Linked DNA regions of Homo sapiens: regions 2, 3 and 4 are each linked to region 1. Evidence: promoter capture Hi-C in 16 types of primary human blood cells and fetal thymus (Javierre and others, 2016). All regions are on one chromosome and are shown on one strand. Each heading gives the region's core, a stretch centred on a gene start or on the middle of the fragment in contact. The rest is flanking DNA. Distances are from core to core; before and after follow the strand shown.

Region 1 (2,676 bases), core at 109-2,608:
CTCCTGGGATCTTACCAATTACCCCAAAATTGAAGGCAAAAATGAGTAAGAAGTCAGTCCATTTGTTCAACTGCACCCATTTTTTTTCCATGAAAAAAATACAGGGGTGAGTAGGGGGCTGTGGGAACCCTATACTTTCCACTCAGCTTTGCCGTGACTCTCAAACTGCTCTAAAATTAAAGCATTTTAAAATGCAGAGGGATGCTGGCTTCTGGAGATAAGAAGGTAGGAGTATGATAGGTGGCAGTGTCCATGGCATGTACAACACGTATAGAAAGATGGTTTGCTAAGTCTGGAAATCATGTAGGACCTGTAGTATGTGACTAGCACCTGCTGTGAGCTGGCCACTTTCCTATAGATTGTATCATTTTATCCTCAACACAATCATGGCATCATCCCTTGTTTCATAGACTGGGACTTGAGACTCCGAGTCGGCCATTTGCCCAGAGTCCCAGCTGGTGAGTGAGTGGTACAGCCAGAAGTCACACGCAGGTCTCTGAGCTCGCCTCCCTCCACCACTGCTGCCTCTCCCTTTATTTGTACTTCATCTAATAGGCAAGGCAGCCATTGACAGCTCTCAAAGGGGGAAGTGCTGGCCTGACCTAAAAATAGCTTACATTTATCAAGCACTTAGTCGGCTACACTCTGCTAAGCACTTTACAGAGATTACCTCTTTAATCCTCACAACGACCCTATGGTTATAATTATCTCCATTTTACAGATGAGGAAACAGACTGAAGAGAGACTGTGAGGTGTTGTGAGTCACACAGCTAGTTGGTGACAGAGCCCCAAGTGGCACCTGGGCAGCCAGTGCGAGTGCAGTCTCCACCTACCACTGCGCTGTGCCCGCTGCCCCCGGGGAGCGGGGGAGGATGGGACAGGCCCTGTAAAGGTCGAGTTGATAAGACTTTACAATTCATTGAATGTGGGAGCAGAGGGAGAAAGAGCAGTTCAGGCGTTGCTGTGAGTCAGCTAATCCTGGGCCCCTTCTTTGGGACCTGAATGCCCCACGGGATGAACTGGAGGTCAGGAGCAGAGATGTCACTCAACCCTCCCTACAGAAATTAGAGGTCCCTTTTGGATGGTGTGTTCAAGCTCTCCCTCCCTGGTGCTGTGGGGGGTGTCATCTCTCTCCCGAGATAACAGGGACACCTCAGTCCTCCTGGGGCTATTCTGGGCTGCTGTCTGATCCTCCTCTCTCCCCCAACCCCTACTTCAGCCTTTCTGCTGGGCGTAGCTGAGTGGGGAGGGCCAGCCCAGTTACGTAACCCTGTGGCTGGGACCCGGGAGGCCAGCCTGGGAGCAGGTGCTCAGCCCCTCCCTCATCACCAGCAGTGAAAATCTAGAGCTGGAGCTCAGCCTCTGGGAAGGCCCAGCATGGAGGCAGCCACAGCTCCGGAGGTGGCCGCAGGATCCAAGCTGAAGGTGAAAGAAGCCAGCCCAGCGGATGCTGAACCACCCCAGGCTTCACCTGGACAGGGGGCTGGCAGCCCCACTCCCCAGCTCCTGCCCCCTATAGAAGGTGACCCATGGCAGGTGGGGAGGGTGGGGAGGCCGGGTGGTGGGAGTTGGGGAAGACATCGCCACCTTCCTGAACGGCGCCTCAGGTTTTCTGCAGAGCTAAAGACTCTATAGGATTGGTGATTAGGCTGGAGATCATTCGTGAGAGCCCCCATCCCCTGTCCTTGATGGAGTCTAACTTGCTGCTCAAATGTCCCTGCTAAGTTTTTGTGTTTTAGCTGAGAAGTCAGTGATGGTGTTGGTGGCACTTTACAGTGACTAAAAATGATCTGTTTATATTTTTACCTTTTAAAAAATTGTCATAGGGACTGGGAAGACCTGATATACTAATGGCCAGTCAGGAAGGGACTGAGGGGTAAGAGATAGTGACTGTCTGCTGAAGGAACAGGGAAATAAAATGCTATGGCAATGGGGAGGCTAAGAGTGGGGCAGCACAGTGACACTCGGCCTCCTGCTGGGCAGTACCACGGGGTCAGGACCTCCTCCAATCCCCCACTGCTCCCATAGGAGATCCTGACCCCTCAGAGTCTGAGCTCCACGGAAGTGGAGCTCTCCTGGGAGAAGCATTCAATTTCCCCTTCACGATGGTCTCTGTGTGCCTCTCAGCAAAGAGGCGTTCCCAAGTGAGGAATTCCAACCCCGAGCTTCCTGCCGCCCATCCCTGAATGCCCTGGCTGAGGCCTCTGTAGCTAACCACTTCGTGGCGCTCACCTGAAAGTCTTAAGAGGATGAAAAGACCACAATCAAGAAACACGTGGACTCCTAGGGCAGGAAGAGGCAGGGGAAAAGATATACTAGACTTGGAGGCAAAGCTCTAGGCTCAATTCCTAGTGCCGCCTCTAACAGCCCTGTGACCTTGGACAAGTCACTGGACTGCTCAGTTTCCATTTTCACTCTGTAAAATGGTGATTAATAACATCTACCTATCAGGGTAGTTGAAAGGATTGCTGAGATGATCCAGGGTGCCTTGGAAGAGGCCAAACTAAGATGTAAATAAATGATCAAATATTTCCAAGTGAGAGGTGAAGGCTGCGTTCTACCTCCATAGGGTTGTGCAGCAGACTCTGTCTGCCTCTTATCCTCATGGGAGAGGCCAGGTTTCCAGAAACTATTTGAATGTCAAGGGCAGAGAGCTGGCCAAGTTTGTCCCGTTGA
Region 2 (2,676 bases), core at 122-2,621, 120 kb before region 1:
GAAGTAACTTGTGCTTAGCACTCTCCCAGGCTGGAGTGTAGTGGCACCATCTCGGCTCACTGCAACCTCCGCCTCCTGGGTTCAAGTGATTCTCATGCCTTAGCCTCTCAAGTAGCTGGGATTACAGGCACCTGCCACCACGCCCAGCTAATTTATGTGTTTTTAGTAGAGACGGGGTTTCACCTTGTTGGCCAGCCTGGTCTCGAACTCCTGACCTCAGGTGATCCGCCTGCCTCATCCTCCCAACGTGCTGGGATTACAGGCGTGAGCCACCACGCCAGGCCAAAAGCACTACTATATGACATGTTACCTGTTGTAAAGTCTGGACTCCATAAACCACGGATTGCAACCATCTCATTCATTTGTTCACATATTTTTTGTGTCCATTGTGTGCTCAAAGCTTTTATAGCTGAGACCATGATTGGTGCCTCTTCTCCGTAGGGATTTCCAGCACACTTGAGCAAGGAAAGGTGGAAAGTGTTAAGTGTTAAGGGGAAGTGTTTAGAGAGGAAAGCAGTCTGACATGTAAGTTATATAAATATTGAGTGAATGAACTAGGTTAGAATTAGGAACTACATGGATCTCAGTCTGTTAAGATAACAATAGTAATTCATACAAATAAGTAGAGAAATGTACCTGTGACTAACTTTTAGTAAAAAGTAATAATTAGGCCCAGGCACAGTGGTTCATGCCTGTAATCCCAGCATTTTGGGAGGCCGAGGCGGGTGGATCACGAGGTCAGGAGTTCAAGACCAGCCTGGCCAATATGGTGAAACCCCATCTCTACTAAAAATACAAAAATTAGCCGGGCGTGGTGGCATGCACCTGTAGTCTTAGCTGCTGGGGAGGCTGAGGCAGGATAACTGCTTGAACCCAGGAGGCGGAGGTTACAGTGAGCTGAGATCGCACCCGCCTGAGCGACAGAGCGAGACTCTGTCTCAAAAAAAAAAAAAAAAAAGTAATAACTGTGTTTTATAGAGATTGTCTGAATTAGGGGGAAAACTCTTCCTACTTGCTCCACGAGTCAATACCTGTTAGGAGACTATTACAAACGTTAGGTGAAAGGTAATGAGGGCATTGAGAATGGAAAGAAGAGTGATAACCCCAAGTATTAACGTCATATGCATGTTATGGGAAGAGGATAAGGAAAAATGCACATTTTCTTGGAAATTGGCTGATAGTTTTGAGGCATGAACTTACCAAAGGAACTGGTAAGTCTATTCAGAATGGATCCAAGTTGATTCAGGATTGAGGCAGAAAAGTCATTTGCTCTCATTTCATCAATTTGGGAAGACTTTCTGGGAGTGAGGCAGAAGTGTTCTATATATAGGTTCCATTGCCTTGAGAAACTGTTAATGTACAAAAAAATGCTACAGATTGTTGTGGGCGAAGTAGAGAATAATGACAATGTGCGTATTCTGTAGCTATCTGAGCTAGTTGTCAAGGAACTTGAATTCAGTGTCTACATGGCTAGTTTTTATGAGTATAATTAATAATTTTTTTTTAAATTATAGGGGCGTGAATACTTTTTCTCCCGAAGGAAGATTATTTCAAGTGGAATATGCCATTGAGGCTATCAAGGTATAGTAGCAAGTAGCATAGGTCCTGAAATTTCATGGCTACCTAACATTTTGCTGGCAGAACACTTGGAGTAAATGTGGTTTAACCATTCCTTTAGAAAATGTTCTTATATCCCTTTAAGCAACCACTGTTAACCATTTTTATAACAGTTTCAATCCTATTCCTAATATCTATTTTAAAACTTTTTGAGCAGTTAACTGCTTCATAATTATCTAAATAGCTTTTTCTCAGTGGGGGTGGAGGGACATATTTGTGCTTTTGATCCTCTTAGCTATAAAGAGAGGTACAGAAGTCCAGAATTAGCACCTGTATTACTTTTTCTGTTTTGTTTTCTTTAGCAAATCATGTATCTGACCACCTTTGTATTCTTTCTTTTTCTTTCTTTTTTTTTTTTTTTGAGATGGAGTCTCTCTCAGTTGCCCAGGCTGGAGTTCAGTGGCGTGATCTCAGCTTACTGCAACCTCCGCCCCTCGGGTTCAAGTGATTTTCCTGCCTCAGCCTCCCAGTACCACCAGGCTGGTCTCGAACCCCTGACCTCAAATGATTCGCCCATCTCAGCCTCCCAAAGTGCTGGGATTACAGGCGTGAGCCACCACGCACAGCCCACCTTTGTGTTCTTGTTGGTAAAGTCACCTTAGGGACTAAATAAGAGATTTGTTTTAGTGGTTTTTTAGAGACAGGGTCTCACTCTGTCACCCATGCTGGAGTACAGTGACACCATCTTAGCTCACTGCAGCTTCTAACTCCTGGGCTCAAGCTTTCCTCCCACCTTAACCTCCCTAGCAGCTAGGGTACAGATGTGTGCACCATGCCTGGCTAATTTTTTTTTTTTTTTTTTTTTGGTAGAGATGTGGTCTTGCTATGTTGCCCAAGTTGGTCTCAAACTCCTGGGCTCAAGTGATCCTCCTGCCTCAGCCTCTCAAAGTGTTGGGATTTACAGGTGTGAGCCACCACACCTGGCGTGGACTGGATAATTCTTTGTTGTGGAGGGCCATCTTGTACATTTTAGCATGTTTATCAATTCCTGGGTACTACCCATTAGGTGCCAGTAGCACTCTTTCAGTTGTGACCATCAAAAATGTCTCCAGACTTTGC
Region 3 (2,676 bases), core at 117-2,616, 100 kb after region 1:
ACCTGGTTCTTTTCAGTGTCATAGAGTGATAGTGGAAGGTTTAAAAAAAAGATAGGGAGGATGTATCCACCAGGGCTTTGGGCATTTTCTTGATGAACTTATTCCTTTGGCTTCAGTGAGAATATCTATCATTTACTTAAGAGAAGGCAATGAGCTACGTGGTTTAAAAAACAAATAAAAGGCTGAGTGCAGTGGCTTATGCCTGTAATCCCAGCAGTTTGGGAGGCTGAGGCGGACAGATCACTTGAGCCCAGGAGTTGGAGACCAGCCTGGGCAACATGGTGAAACCCTGTGTCTACAAAAAATATAAAAATTAGTGAGCCTGGTGGTGCACACTTGTAGTCCTAGCTACTTGAGAGGTTGAGATGGGAGGATAGCTTGAGCCCAAGAGCTTGAGGCTGCACTGAACAGTGATTATGCCACTGCACTCCAGCCTAGGTGACAGAGTGAGAGCCTGTCTCAAAAACAAAAACATTCCTTGTTGCCTCTCTTTGTGCTTTTCTTTTTTTTTTTTTTTTTTTTTGAGGCAGAGTCTCACTCTGTCACCCAGGCTGGATGGAGTGCAGTGGCGCGATCTCGGCTCACTGCAAGCTCCGCCTTCCAGGTTCACGCTATTCTCCCGCCTCAGCCTCCCGAGTAGCTGGGACTACAGGCACCCGCCACCACGCCCGGCTAATTTTTTGTATTTTTAGTAGAGACGGGGTTTCACCGTGTTAGCCAGGATGGTCTCAATCTCCCGACCTCATGATCTGCCCGCCTCGGCCTCCCAAAGTGCTGGGATTACAGGCGTGAGCCACCGCGCCCGGCCTCTTTTTATGCTTTTCAAGGCTTTTCTTACCCAGGCCTTGCTCCCCTTGCCCTCAGACTACCATTTTCACTCCCTTTGAGCTGGTTATCCAGGGGAAATGGATCCAGGCTGCTATGAAGATTATCCACCAGGGAACCCCGACACCCTCCTCACCCAGCCTCTCTCCTGAAGAGATCATGAGCTGAGGGCATGCGAGGAAAACTCCCAGCTGTTTCTGCCCTTAAGTTAGAGGACAGAGGAAATAGTTTCTATACTTAAGAAGATAGAAATATTTTCATTCCAAAGCTATAAGAATTATGAGCAGACGAAGCTATGGCTCTGGCGGATGGGCCATTTTGGGAAACAAGATACAAGCAAGGGCATAATTTACAAACAAAGTGTGGGTATATTTGGCAGGTTTGAGGCAAGCAGAAAGGAGGGTTTGGGTACTCTATAAAAAAAGATCTGAAATTCAAACATCTGATAAGGCCACAATGAAGAGATTTCCAGCAGTGGGTGTTGCAGGATGCTGGCACCCAAATCGCCGCAGGCTTGCAAAGGTGCTATGCAAGGTGAGGAGGCAGGTGAGGCAGGCAGTGCCTCTCACAGGTCCATGTCTAGGCCTCCTGAGGATGTCTTCAGCGGCACTGAGTCAAATCCATCAGGAGTCCTCTGAAAGAGAGATGGTGACAGGAGCTGGCTGCTGCACAGGGGCAAGTTTGGGGACAAAGGAGAGAAATGGAAAATAGGTGACAGAAGGAACCCTTATGAAATTCCTGTTTCAGTGGCTTTGTGGAAACACAGAAATGAGATACCCTCTATTCTGCTTGCTCCCTTCAGGGTCAGTTGGAGAACAATAAAAATCTTTTTCTTTTAGGCGGGGTGTGGTGGCTCATGCCTGTAATCCCAGCACTTGGGAGGCCAAGGCAGGTGGATCACCTGAGGTTAGGAGTTCGAGACCAGCCTGACCAACATGGTGAGACCCTGTCTCTACCGAAAATACAAAAATTAGCCAGGCATGGTGGCAGGCGCCTATAATCGCAACTACCTGGGAGGCTGAGGAAGGAGAATCGCTTGAACCCGGGAACAGAGGTTGCAGTAAGCCAAGATCATGCCACTGCACTCCAGCCTGGGCAACAAGAGCGAAACTCTGTCTCAAAAAAAAAAAAATTTTTTTCTTTTAAAAAAATGTTTTTGGCCAGGCACAGTGGCTCACACCTGTGATCCCAGCACTTTGGGAGGCCAAAGCAGGCAGATCACCTGAGGTCAGGAGTTCAAGACCAGCCTGGCCAACATGGTGAAACCCTGTCTCTACTAAAAATACAAAAAAAAAAAATTAGCCAGGTGTGATGGCAAGCACCTGTAATCCCAGCATCTAGGGAGGCTAAGGCAGGAGAACCACTTGAACCTGGGAGGTGGAGGTTGCAGTGAGCTGAGATCATGCCACTGCACTCCAGCCTGGGAGACAGAGCAACACTCCGTCTCAATAAATAAATAAATAAATACATGTTTTTTAGAGACAGGGTCTCGCTCTGTTGCCCAGGCTGGAGTGCAATGGCACAATCATAGTTCAGTGCAGCCTCCAACTCCTGGGCTCAAGTGATCCTCCCACCTCAGCCTCCCAAGTAGCTGAGACTACTGGCATGCTCCACAACACCCAGCTGATTGTTTTTTATTTTGTAGAGATGGGGTCTTCCTATGTTGTCTAGGCTGATCTTGAACTCCCAGCCTCAAGAGATCCTCCAGCCTGGGCCTCCCAAAGTGCTGGGATTACAGGCATGAGCCAAAAATCTTAAAAATCCCCTGCTTTGCACCTTTGCTGAATTCTAGCAGTCCCAGATAGACTCAAGAGTCCCAGGGTGAACTGTTCTCCCATTCATTTAAAAAAA
Region 4 (2,676 bases), core at 132-2,631, 80 kb after region 1:
AGCGCTGGAGAGGTAGTGCAGTGCTCAGGAGCAAGCCCTGGAGCAGACACACCTGAGTGTGGATTCTTTTTTTTTTTTTTTTTTGACGGAGTCTCACTCTGTCGCCCAGGCTAGAGTACAGTTTGCGTGATCTGGGCTCACTGCAAGCTCCGCCTTCCGGTTTCAAGTGATTCTCCTGCCTCAGCCTCCCAAGCAGCTGGGATTACAGGAGTGCACCACCACGTCTGGCTAATTTTTTTTTCCTTTTTTTTTTTTGTATTTTTAATAGAGATAGGGTTTCACTCTGTTGGATAGGGTGATCTCAAACTCCTGGCCTTAAGTGATCCCCCACCTTGGCCTCCCAAAGTGCTGGGATTATAGGCGTGAGCCACTGCACCCGGCCCCGAGTGTAGATTCTTATCTACCTGCTAACAACAATCCCAGCATTGAGGCTAAGGGTGAAAGATGGATGGAATGATGAAATATCAGACAGCCAAGGAAAACAAACAAACAAAAAGTCACAGGATCTGGAACTCAGTTTAGAACAATCAATGTAATTTGACAAAATGGCAGGGGTGTAACCAGGGTTGGATTTCGTTCTCTCTAGTTTCTCTTCTCATCCTTCCGTATGATAATTCTGCTAAATCATCATTTGTAATCCTTGCACAAAACCAGGTGAATTTAAAAAGATCACTTAAAGAGTTAAATTCTTCTTAAATTAAAAAGAGTTGGCAGGGCACGGTGGCTCATGCCTGTAATCCCAGCACTTTGGGAGGCTGAGGTGGGTGGATCACGAGGTCAGGAGTTCAAGATCAGCCTGACCAAGATGGTGAAACCCCGTCTCTACTAAAAATACAAAAATTAGGCAGGCGCGGTAGCAGACACCTGTAATCCCAACTACTCGGGAGGCTGAAGCAGGAGACTTGCTTGAACTTGGGGGCAGAGGTTGCAGTGAGCTGAGATCACACCACTGCACTCCAGCCTGGGTGACAGAGTAAGACTCTGTCTCAAAAAAAAAAAAAAAAAAGAGTTAAAGAAAGTTAGTCAAAGGTCATTATAATAAGATACATGAGACTTCAACAAAACTTGCATAAGAATATTTAGCATCCGCTTTGTGAGTATAAATAAAACAAAGTATAGCCAGGTACAGTGGCTTGCAACTGTAATCCCAGCTACATGGTAGGCTGAGGTGGGCAGATCACTTTAGCCCAGGAGTTCAAGACCAGCCTGGGCAGCAGAGTGAGACCCCATATCTAAATATAAATAAATAAATAAATAAATAAATATATATATATGTGTGTGTGTGTGTGTGTGTGTGTGTGTGTATATATATATATATATATATTTTTTTTTTTTTTTAAATTAGCCAGGCATAGTGGAGTACACCTGTAGTCTCAGCTACTTGGGAGGCTGAGGCGGGGGGACTGCTTGAGCCCAGGTATTAGAGGCTGTGGTGAGCTATGCTTGTGCCACTGCACTCCAGCCTGGGTGACTTTTTAAAAAATTAGCCAGGCACAGTGACATGTGTCTATAGTCCTAGTTACTTGAGAGGCTGAGGTGGGAGGACTGCTTGAGCCAAGGAGTTGGAGGCTGCAGTGAGCTATGATCACGCCACTGCGCTCTAGCCTGGGCAACAAAGCAAGACACTGTGTCAAAAAAAAAAAAAGAAAGAACAAAAGGACTAAATCTCCTAAATGTAAAGCATGGAAATCCTTTAGGTTCATTACACATTCTCATACAATCAAAATTCTAACCATAACTCCACTCACACCCTTCAGTGACTCAGAGCAAAATCATCTTAAAAAGTTGGAAAAATCTGGCCAGGTGCAGTAGCAACACAGGGAGACTCCATCTCAACAAAAAAAAAAAAAAAAAAAATTAGCCGAGTGTGGTGGCATGCTACTAGGGAGGCTGAGGCAGGAGGGCTGCTTGAGCCCAGGAGGTTGAGGCTGCAGTGAGCCATGATTGTGCCACTGCGCTCCAGCCTGGGCAATAAAATGAGGCTTTGTCTCAGAAAAAAAGAAAAAAAGTTGGAAAAATCTGAAACTATCAGAATGAGTCTTGATAAGAACAGACTACAGAGGTAGGGAAAAAATGGACTAAATCTCAAGATTTTTGCAATGGCATCATAGGCAGGGTGATATGTTTGCAAGATAGTTACCAGGCTCCCTTGCTATTTGATAATCCCTCAGGGCAGCAAATTCAAGTTCTGAGCTCAAGGTTTGACTCTGCAACTAAGTTAGAATATGATTTTAAGCAAGCTCTTTAATTTCCTAAGCCGATTCCCTTACCCATTAAATAGGGCTGACAAATGTACTATCTGCACTCCAGCTCTGCAGTAAGGATCAAAACCAAAATAAGATGTCTGTGAAAGTATCTGAATGCTTTCGAGTGCTCTACAAATTAAAGCACTATCATTACCATTTCAATGGCAGTGGGAGTGAACACTCCCTGCATGGCTAGCAACAAAATCAGATCTAAGAATGTTATTGTGAATGACAACACTCACAATCCCATCTTCTTGCTTCAAAAAATACCCAGCTGGCACTGACTGTACATAGGTCCCAAAGAACACCCAGGGAGGAGTATGCATGGGAATTAACATAATTATGGGGCCTCTAGTATGCGAATGACTAAGTCCCACAGAAAGAAACTGGATGATTATCAATATCACTTTCCACAGCTAAAAGTGTTACA

The links. The method cuts DNA at HindIII sites, captures the fragments that hold promoters and counts their contacts. A CHiCAGO score of 5 or more calls a contact.
Region 2: a fragment that was not itself captured here is called in contact with the fragment with the promoter of MYBPHL in region 1 in 1 of 17 cell types (M2 macrophages); the score reaches 5.0 in M2 macrophages.
Region 3: a contact is called between a fragment that was not itself captured here and the fragment with the promoter of MYBPHL in region 1, in 1 of 17 cell types (M2 macrophages). The highest score is 5.9, in M2 macrophages.
Region 4: a contact is called between a fragment that was not itself captured here and the fragment with the promoter of MYBPHL in region 1, in 1 of 17 cell types (M2 macrophages). The highest score is 6.1, in M2 macrophages.

The regions. Positions count from the first base shown.
Region 1 is chr1:109,305,693-109,308,368 of GRCh38, reverse strand. MYBPHL (myosin binding protein H like) reads left to right here and starts at 1,358. Exons shown (of 9, transcript NM_001010985.3): 1 at 1,358-1,522. The coding sequence starts at 1,378. RefSeq lists enhancers at 362-1,100, 1,101-1,840. The HindIII fragment of the contact is 12,327 bases long and covers 1-2,676 here.
Region 2 is chr1:109,420,765-109,423,440 of GRCh38, reverse strand. PSMA5 (proteasome 20S subunit alpha 5) reads left to right here. Exons shown (of 9, transcript NM_002790.4): 2 at 1,515-1,581. Among named protein-coding and RNA genes, the nearest start is that of PSMA5, 4.3 kb to the left of the region's middle. The HindIII fragment of the contact is 1,938 bases long and covers 403-2,340 here.
Region 3 is chr1:109,201,727-109,204,402 of GRCh38, reverse strand. ELAPOR1 (endosome-lysosome associated apoptosis and autophagy regulator 1) reads right to left here. Exons shown (of 22, transcript NM_020775.5): 22 at 1-1,459. The coding sequence ends at 1,391. Among named protein-coding and RNA genes, the nearest start is that of SARS1, 11 kb to the left of the region's middle. The HindIII fragment of the contact is 3,218 bases long and covers 1-2,676 here.
Region 4 is chr1:109,225,326-109,228,001 of GRCh38, reverse strand. All of the region lies in intron 2 of SARS1 (seryl-tRNA synthetase 1), which reads right to left. Among named protein-coding and RNA genes, the nearest start is that of SARS1, 13 kb to the right of the region's middle. RefSeq lists enhancers at 1,259-1,943, 1,944-2,628. The HindIII fragment of the contact is 7,808 bases long and covers 1-2,676 here.